Linked DNA regions of Homo sapiens: region 1 is linked to region 2. The links are contacts of gene promoters, found by promoter capture Hi-C in human tissues and cell types (Jung and others, 2019). All regions are on one chromosome and are shown on one strand. The core of a region is centred on a gene start or on the middle of the fragment in contact, and the rest is flanking DNA. Distances in the headings are between cores, read along the strand shown. Region 1 holds the start of AAAS (aladin WD repeat nucleoporin). Region 2 holds the start of SPRYD3 (SPRY domain containing 3).

Region 1 (5,053 bases), core at 1-2,500, 240 kb before region 2:
TGGGAGGATTAATTTGGTACTTCCCTGAATGTGGCTTATTTCGGGCTTTCTAAGCGCTAAGATAGTGAGTGGGAGAAGGTGTTCGGGAATTCGGAGCTGGGAAAAACAGTAGTCTCATGGAAAACAACAGAAAAAAACCCCACTCCAGCCTGGTAACCAACGGTTGGCCGGGGGACGTGTCCGCGCTGCTCCCCCTCCGGCCGCCAGGGGGCGCAGGAAGAAGCTTTGGAGGTCTGTCCCGGGACCGCGTACTCGTCCTTCTTTCCCGTTAGTCTTTTCTTCACTTCCGTTGAGTTCCGCCTCGCCGTTTGTCCCTTGCGGTACCCGTCCGCATACGAATCTAGCCCGGGAACCGAGTTGCGGGAGTGCGGTCTGTGCCGTTCCGGCCAGGAGTTTGCCGACTGCAGACGTCCTGCGAACCGGCAAGATGTGCTCTCTGGGGTTGTTCCCTCCTCCACCGCCTCGGGGTCAAGTCACCCTATATGAGCACAATAACGAGCTGGTGACGGGCAGTAGCTATGAGAGCCCGCCCCCCGACTTCCGGGGCCAGGTGGCCAGGGCGAGGAGGGAGGGGACCTACAGGCATGGGGGCGGAGTCGGGGACTACTGGGGAAAGGAGGCAGTGTGACAGGGGCAGGGTCACAGAGTCTGGCGGAGTGGAAACAGCTTGGCCCCGGCAGGAGGCTAGAAGGGCTGGAATCTGTTTTAGGACTGGGATTGGAGTATAACGGGGGAACGGTTAAGGAGCTGTGGAGGAGGCCTAGAGGGAATGGAGAGAATGAGGGAGAATCTAGGGAGTGTGAGGATGCGGGAGAACTATCTAAAAGTTGGGGACAGTATCTGGGGAGGATCAGAAGGATACAACATGGAACTTTTTTCCATGGTGTTCCTGGGAAGGACAAGGAAGGGAAACTGACATTTATTGAGCGTTTGCTATGTAAGAAAGAGGCTGAGTCAGGTGTTTTCTAAAAATGTCATATGGTTTCATAATCACAGCAACCCTATGAAATATTATTCTAGTTGCACAGATACGGGAGCTAAGACTTGTTTCCCATTCTCACAAGTGTTAGCTTTGTGGAAATGGGAAACAGACCTCTGGAATCTCTTATACTTAGCCCAGCGGTGGGTTGGAGATGGCACGGAATTAAAGATTTGGGAAGAGACTGAATCACCGTCACACTCCTCACTTTTGTGCTATAGTGGATCAATCTTCCTGTCCTACAACTGACAAAGGATCCCCTAAAGACCCCTGGAAGGCTGGACCATGGCACAAGAACTGCCTTCATCCATCACCGGGAGCAAGTGTGGAAGAGATGCATCAACATTTGGTGAGGCATGGCAAAGGGTTTCCTGGGTCACAGTCTGCAGATCCTGGAAAATGAGTCAACACCCCTTTACCTTGGGGTGTTCTTCAAAAGACTTTTATTCAGGCTGTCTCCACGAGAGCTGTATATCCTAAATCATATGAAATTTTTAGTCCTTATTATAGAACTCAAATGCTCAATAAATGTCAGGTTCCCTTCCTTGCCCTTCCCAGGAACACTATGGAAAAAGTACTTCCATTTCATCTCTAGTAACTTGCCTTGCTTTCTGGCTTGATTAGGTGAACCTGCTCCCTGCCCCCACCTCATGGCATTACCACTTCTGAGCTTTTACCTGAAGCTCAGCAAGATCAGATATAAGGTTGCACTGAATAATCTCCTACATAGGTCATCCACTTTGCACTTGTAGGAGTGGAGCTACACTACCTGGTTTCATTTTCTTTTTTTTTTTTGAGATGGAGTTTCACTCTTGTTGCCCAGGCTGGAGTGCAGTGGCGTGCTCAGCTCACTGCAACTTCCACCTCCCAGGTTCAAGCGATTCTTCTGCCTCAGTCTCCCGAGTAGCTAGGATTACAGGCATGTGCCACCACGCCCAGCTAATTTTGTATTTTTAGTAGAGACAGGGTTTCTCCATGTTGGTCAGGCTGGTCTTGAACTTCCGACCTCAGATGATGTGCCCGCCTTGGCCTCCCAAAGTGCTGGGATTACAGGCGTGAGCCACCGCGCCCGGCTCATTTTCTTTTTCTTTTTTTTTTTTTTTTTTTTTTTGAGACGGAGTCTTGCTGTGTTGCCAGGCTGGAGTGCAGAGGTGCGATCTCGGCTCACTGCAGCCTCCGCCTCTCTGGTTCAAGCAGTTCCCCTGCCTCAGCCTCCCGAGTAGCTGGTACTATAGGCATGTGCCACCACGCCCAGCTAACTTTTTGTATTTTAGTAGAGATGAGATTTCACCATGTTGGCCAGGGTGGTCTGGCCTCCTGACCTCAGGCCTGCCTTGGCCTCCCAAAGTGCTGAGATTACAGCTACTGCACCTGGACCTATTAATGGCACATATTAATTCCTTTAAGGGTTATTTATGCCAGGCACAGTGACTCACGCCTATAATCCCAGCGCTTTGGTAGGCTGAGGCCAGCAGATTGCTTGAGCTTAGTAGTTTGAGACTAGCCTGGGGAACATGGCGAAACCATGTTCTTTTCTCTACAAGAAAAGTACAAAAATTAGCTGGGTATGGTGGCATGCACCTTTATTCCCAGCTACTTGGGAGGCTTATGTATAGGAGGATCACTTGAGCCTGGGAGGTGGAGGTTGTAGTGAGCCAAGATTGTGCCAGTGCAGTGGCACTGAGTGAGACCTTGTCTCAAAAAAAAAAAAAGGGTTACTTAATATTTTTATTAATACCATTACCATTTGTAGGATAAATTCCTAGAAATTAAGTTGCTGGCTCAGAGGGTATGTTCATCTGTAATTTTGTGAGCTGTTCCAAATAGCCCTCTGTCAAAATGGTACATGTATATGGTCCCACCAGCAGTGTATGGGAGTGCCTGTTTTCCAACACATGTGCTGTCAAGCTTTGATCTTTGGTACTTCAGTACAGTTTAATGGGCATGCCTGTGTGTGTGAAGTTGAATATCAGTTTGTTGAAAAGCCATTCATTCCCAGGCTCCTTGTCTCCTACTTCTGTGGCTGCTGCTTCTCAGGGTTTTTGGTGGCTCCTCTTCCTGATGTCCCTTAAATGTTGGTGTTCTTGGGGCTAGATTTCCAGTTGATGCATCAGACCTGGTGTTCACGTGTTTGCCAAATTATCCTGCTTGAATATTTCGCAGACTTCATATATTCAGCATGCTCAAATCCAGTCTCTTTATTTCTCTCTCCAAATCTGCTTCTCTGGATGGTTCACTTTAAGGAATGATCATATTACTCATTCAGGAAAAAGTGGTTTGAGTATAGGTTCTGGGGTAGATAGATGGTTGAATCCTGACTGCTACTTTCTACTTAGATTACCTTGTTCATATTAATTAGCCTCTTCACACCTTTGTTCTCTCATCTAAAAATGCAGTGATAGTCTGGGCGCGGAAGCTCATGCCTGTAATCCCAGCACTTTGGGAGGCCAAGGCGGGTGTATCACTTGAGGTCAGGAGTTCGAGACCAGCCTGGCCAATGTGGTGAAACTCCGTGTGTAATCCTAATTACTCAGGAGGCTGAGGTGCAAGAATTGCTTGCACCCAGGAGGTAGAGGTTGCAGTGAGCCGAGTTCACACCACTGCACTCCAGCCTGGGTGACAGAGTGAGACTCCGTCTTAACACACACACACACACACACACACACACGCACACACACACACACACACACTGAAACCCCATCTCTACAAAAAATTTAAAAATTAGCTGGGCATGATGGTGTGCACCCGTAGTCTCAGCTCCTCGGGAGGCCGAGGCAAGAATACCTGAGCTCAGGAGATTGAGGCTGCAGCGAGCCGTGATGGTGATATTGCACTCCAGCCTGGGTCACAGAGCAAGACCCTGTCTCAATAAAATAAAAATAAATGCAGTGATAACAATACCTATCTTGTAGGATTGTCATAATGGCTTGATTAGTTAATGTGAGGCACCTAGTCCAGAGCTGGCACATTGTAAGCATATTAGCTGATGTAATTATTACCTAGGTGTTTCTGTTGTATTGCTCTTTCCTTTACTAATGTCTGATTAGTCTTCACATCTTGTTTATGCTAATTCCTAAATCTCTCAAATCTGTCTCTTTTTCTTCATCCCCACCAGTTCAGGCCACTTTCACCTTTTTCCTAGGTTCCTGAAGTAGATTCTTTTTTTTTTTTTGAGACAGAGTCTCACTTTGTCACCCAGGCTGGAGTGCAGTGGCGTGATCTCAGCTCGCTGCAACCTCCGCCTCCTGGGTTCAAGCAATTCTTCTGCCTCAGCCTCTGAGTAGCTGGGACTACAGGTGCACACCACCACGCCTGGTTAATTTTTGTTTTGTTTTATTTTTTTGGTTTTTTTTTTTTGAGACGGAGTCTCGCTCTGTTGCCCAGGCTGGAGTGCAGTGGCACGATCTCGGCTCACTGCAAGCTTCGCCTCCCGAGTTCACTCCATTCTCGTGCCTCAGCCTCCCGAGTAGCTGGGACTACAGGCGCCCACCACCACACCTGGCTAATTTTTTGTATTTTTAGTAGAGATGGGGTTTCACCGTGTTAGCCAGGATGGTCTTGATCTCTTGACCTTGTGATCCGCCCGCCTCAGCCTCCCAAAGTGCTGGGATTACAGGTGTGAGCCACCGCACCTGGCCAATTTTTGTATTTTTAATAGAGATGAGGTTTCACCATCTTGACCAGGCTGGTCTCGAACTCCTGACCTCGTGATCCACCTGCCTTGGCCTCCCAGCGTGCTGGGATTACAGGTGTGAGCCACCGCACCCGGCCCTGAAGTAGATTCTTAACTGATTTATTTTTCTCTATTATTATTATTATTTTTTGAGACAGCATCTTGCTCTGTTGCCCAGTGTGGAGTGCAGTGGCGCAAACATGGAACACGGCTCACTGCATTGTCAGCCCCCAGGGCTCAAGTGATGCTCCTTCCTCAGCCTCCCAAGTAGCTGGGACTACAGGCATGTGCCACCACACCTGCCTAAGTTTTGTATTTTTTTTTGTAGAGACAGCATTTCCCTATGTTGCCTAGGCTGGTCTCAAGCTCTTGAGCTCAGGCGATCCACCTGCCTTGGCCTC
Region 2 (4,888 bases), core at 68-2,567:
CCCATTGCCGTTATGCCGAGTGGGCACTATTCACGGTATGCGAGCTGATGGCTTTCCTGGCACTCAACACGTTAGAGTACCTAGTGTGATAAGAATAGAATAGTCTGGGGTCTGAAGGAGCTCACAGTCTAGCAGAGACGGGTCTACACACACAAGTAACTCCAATAACGAAAGCAAGACGGTAATAAGTGTTATAAATGGCGGGGGGCGGTGGCTCACGCCTGTAATCCCAACACTTTGGGAGGCCGAGGTGGGCGGATCAAGAGGTCAGGAGATCGAGACCATCCTGGCTAACACGGTGAAACCCCGTCTCTACCAAAAATACAAAAAAAATTAGCTTGGCGTGGTGGCGGGCGCCTGTAGTCCCAGCTACTTGGGAGGCTGAGGCAGGAGAATGGCGTGAACCCAGGAGGCAGAGCTTGCAGTGAGCCGAGATCGCGCCACTGCACTCCAGCCTGGGCGACAGAGTGAGACTCCGTCTCAAAAAAAAAAGTATTATAAATGAGGTGCTACAGAGGAGAGGAATCTTTTCCGTCCAGAAGAGAGAGATATGGTGATGGGAAGGGAGCAAGGAAGTCCTCATCTAGGAGTCCAACCCCCCAGAATGGCAGGTAGGCACTCCCTAGTAGGTGTTCAATAAATATTCGTGTCTTCGTCCCTTCACATTCTAACCCCAGTCTAACTTTCCTTCAGCCTACCAAAGCCCTGTGTTCCTCCACAGAATGCCGCTTCGTGCCACTGTGCCTTCTGCATCCCCAGTTCTCTCCTCCTGGAATGGAATGTTCTTGCCAATAATGAGCGAGCGGTGCCATGAAACAGAGCTCGGGAGGGTACACAGCATAACAGTTAAGCGCGCAGGCTATCGAGGCCAGCCTTCGGCCCATCCGTAAAAAGGAGATAAGATTTATTTCATAAGGCTGCACCGTGGATTAAATGGACATTCCGGTAAAGCTTTTATTTCAGTCCAGCGCGGAAGGAGGGCTCAAGTAATACTCGCAACGTTTGTGCGAGCGTGGCCACCTTCTCCGCCCGTCCCGTCTCCCCGGCGCCGCTCAAGAGCCGCCCCCTGTCCGCCTCAGCGGCGCCCAGGCACCCAGCAGCGTCCGCGCTGCCACGTCGCCTTCGCTCACCCCAGCAACAGCCGGGTTGACCAGACCGGGGCCCTGAGCTGGGTACCCAGGGCACCGGGCCGCGCCCCACACCCTGCCTGCGCCTTCCGATTGGCTCCTGCAGGTGCCCGTCGTCAGAGGCCGTTGCTGATTGGCTTAGATGGGGGACGGGGCGGGCCTCTAGGAGTGAAGGAAAGGCGGGGACCCGGATGTGTGTGGTGGCGGCGGCCGAAGAGCTTGTGTGCGGAGCTGAGAGGCCTATGGATGAGGAGGACGCGGCGGCCCCGGTAGGCGGGGATCGGGGGCGGGGTCCCGGAGGCCTCGTATCTCCCCGGAGCCTGAAGCGGAAGGCGGGGGTCCTGGGCGGGGGCTCTGGGGCCAGGGGCGGGGCCCTGCGCTCTGGTCACTGGGCTTCTTCTGTTGCTGCACCCTCGGCCCAGTGCAGGGCCTGGGGAGACTGGGCGTAGGCACACGGATGGGCTGGGGCCCGGCTGCTCCCGGGTCTCATCTCAGTGATCAGGCCGTGCCCGGGGAGGAGACAGGGCCCAGTAGGGCCGCCACTCGCCGGTGCCAAGACTGTGGGGTCTGCGCAACCAGCATCTACCTGGGGTTGAGTCCTGGCTGAGTGCCCGGGAGTGGAATCTTAGGGCTGTCTGTCCCACAGGTGCCTACTCTTCTGGGCCACGTGGTGGGTTGTAGCTACTGCATAAGAGTCGTAATTTGCGTATTGGGATCAAATTCAGCCCAGCCAAGGCTTACTAAGCACCTACCGTGTGCAAGGCAATGTCAGGCCTCAAGAAAACCCCTGTCCCAGTGTTTAGGGAATGGGAAGAGAAGAGTACTTCACCTCTTTCTCACTTTTGGCTCCCAGGAAAAATCATTCATTCATTTATATGTAGGGACTGATGGTTGTTTAAATACCTGGATCATCCCACCCCCATCCATCGGCGCTGCTACCGACTTAGTGGATGTCATTTCTCATGTGAACTGCTGCAACAACGTCTGAATTGTTTGCCCACATCTGTTCTTGATCCTCTTGTGATCAGTTCTCCAACCAGCAGCTGGAATGATCTTTAGGAACTGATTAAGATCGTGGCTTTTTTTTTTTTTTTTGAGATGGAGTTTCTGTCACCCAGGCTGGAGTGCAGTGGGACGATCTCGGCTCACTGCAAACTCCACCTCCCAGGTTCAAGCAATTCTCTTGCCTCAGCCTCCTGAGTAGCTGGGATTACAGGTGCGCACCACCACGCCTGGCTAATTTGTTTGTATTTTTAGTAGAGATGGGGTTTCACCATGTTGGTCAGGCTGGTCTTCAACTTCTGACCTTGTGATCCTCCCACTTCGGCCTCCCAAAGTGCTGGGATCACAGACGTGAGCCACCAGGCCCAGGATCATGGCATTTTTTTTTCTTTTTTTTTTGAGACAGGGTCTTGCTCTGTCAGCCAGGCTGGAATGTAGTGGCACAATCAGAACTGACTGCAGCCTTGACCTGCCAGACTCAAGCCATCTTCAGTCTCCTTAGTAGCTGGGACTACAGGTGCATGCTGCCACACCTGGCTCATTGTTTTAATTTTTAGTAGAGATGAGGTCTCACTACGTTGCCCAGGCTGGTCTGGGTCCTGGCCTCAAGCGATCCTCCTGCCTCAGCCTCCCAAGGTGCTGGGATTGCAGGCATGAGCCATCATACCCAGCCAATCATGGCATTTCCTTGCTTACAACCCTCCAGAAATTTCCATCTTGGAATAAAATCCAGAGTCCTTACCATTTCATTGTCTGTAGGGCCATGATCTGACTCCTGCCTTATTCTCATCTTGTACATTCTCCCTCACATTCCCTATATACCAGCTGTCCATGCCTTTTTCTGTTTCTCTACCATGCCAGCTCTCTTCCATCCAAGGACCTGTGGCTGCCCTTCCTGCCTGGAATATGCCTGGCTTGTCATGCCTAGCTCCTTTTCAACTCAAATGTCACCTCCTCAGAGAGACCGCCTCTGTCCACTCTATCCACTGCCTCCAGATTCTTTATCATATCACCCTGTTCTTTTCTCCACTGCCTGAAATTATGTCTGTTTATTGCCTGTCGTGTCCACCTCCCAGCCTGTGAGAATGGGAATCCTGTCCATCTTGTTCACAGCTCCATCCCTAGCACGGAGAAAAGCACACAGAGTAGGTGCTTGGTAAATGTTTGTTGAATGGAAGAAAGAAGATGAGGGTTGTTGAGGTCAATCTGGGCAGCTGGCCTCAAGGCCAGTGCCTTCTCTACCTTCTGGGTCACAGAGGCTGAGGTGCTTTACCTAGGGCCCTGCTTTCTCCTCAATCCCCTTCTCCCCTTGGCAGGTTTGTTCTCATGAACAAGATGGATGACCTCAACCTGCACTACCGGTTTCTGAATTGGCGCCGGCGGATCCGGGAGATTCGAGAGGTCCGAGCTTTCCGATATCAGGAGAGGTTCAAACATATCCTTGTAGATGGAGATACTTTAAGGTGAGTTCAGGAGAATGCTTCCACATTTTCTTCTCTGTTCCAGATCTTAGAGAGGAAAGGGTTTTTTTTTTTTAACTTTTATTTTTTCAGAGAAGGGGACTGTGCACTGCACAGGGAAGGGCGATGCTCTTGACTCCAGAGGCCTTTCTTTTTCTTTTTTTTTTTTAAGACAGAGTCTCGCTCTGTCACCCAGGCTACAGTGCAGTGGCGTGATCTCAGCTCACTGCAACCTCCGCCTCCTGGGTTCAAGCGATTCTCCTGCCTCAGCTTCCCAAGTAGCTGGGATTACAGGCGTGCACCACCACATACGGCTGATTTTTTATATTTTTGGTAGAGACAGGGTTTCACCATGTTGGCCAGGCAGGTCTTGAACTCCTGACTTCAAGTGATCCACCCGCCCAGAGGCCTTTCTGAGTGGAGCAGTGTGTGCTGCTTCACCCTGCACTCACCTCTGCCTCTGTCACTGGGTGGCTCTGTCCTCATCCAGCAAGGAGGGGATCCAGCTGGGTAGGGGAAGGGATCACATCAGACACAGGAGGCTGCTGGGGTCTCAGAAGCTTCCTAGGTGCTTTGTTGAGAAGACTCCAGTGGGGTAACTGAGTCTTCTGCCACTGTCTCAGGGATTAGATCTAGTGAAGAGTGGCTGTTTCAGAGATAGTTGATTTCCTGTTTGGGGAAGGGCCATTCTATAGTGTACCCTGTCCACCAACTCCTGTATTTCCAGCCCCTTAGCTTGTGTGTGTTTCCTCCCTCTTTTCTGGCTTGAACCCCTTCCCTGACTCCTTCTGAGCCCATGCTCTCACAGAGTTCCACTGAAGGGGGAAGAAAGTAGTACTGTTTAACTAGAGGCAAGAAAGCTGAGGAGTGGGAACTGAATCACTGTCTTCCAATCGATGAAGGGCTTTGGTAAAGAGGATAGAGACCAGCCATTATTCTCCAGCTCCACTGAGGACAGAGCCAGAGGAAAAGGGCTGAAGCTGCAGCATGAGAGATTGAGGTTACACAGGGTTGTGAGACCTCTCTTAGGCAAGTAAGGGAGGCTCTACATTCTTTTCCTCCTGGAAATGAAGAAACCAGGCTTGCACTGGTCTGGTACGGGTTGGATTCCAGCTGGAGGCTGCGAGAGGAGTAGGGTGAGGTGACCTTAAGTATCTGGTTCTGATGTCTGCCGATGTACTGAAGTGCAGCCTGATGGATTCTCCTGTGTGCTGGCCCTTGCAGGGTAAGGGTGGGAGAAGCTGAGGCCCTCCCCCTACTCTTGGGCTAGGCTGCTAATGGAATTCCCCCCTCATTCCT

What was found. Contacts are between HindIII fragments. The study calls those that stand out against the background at their distance.
Region 1: a contact is called between a fragment that was not itself captured here and the fragment with the promoter of SPRYD3 in region 2, in 2 of the 25 tissues and cell types used here (dorsolateral prefrontal cortex and liver).

The regions. Positions count from the first base shown.
Region 1 is chr12:53,316,840-53,321,892 of GRCh38, reverse strand. AAAS (aladin WD repeat nucleoporin) reads left to right here and starts at 283. Exons shown (of 16, transcript NM_015665.6): 1 at 283-550; 2 at 1,201-1,328. The coding sequence starts at 428. RefSeq lists enhancers at 117-166, 247-436, 1,655-1,744. The HindIII fragment of the contact is 4,789 bases long and covers 1-3,644 here.
Region 2 is chr12:53,075,819-53,080,706 of GRCh38, reverse strand. It overlaps SPRYD3 (SPRY domain containing 3), which reads left to right and starts at 1,317. Exons shown (of 11, transcript NM_032840.3): 1 at 1,317-1,396; 2 at 3,446-3,592. The coding sequence starts at 1,374. RefSeq lists a silencer at 1,337-1,616. The HindIII fragment of the contact is 7,407 bases long and covers 1-4,717 here.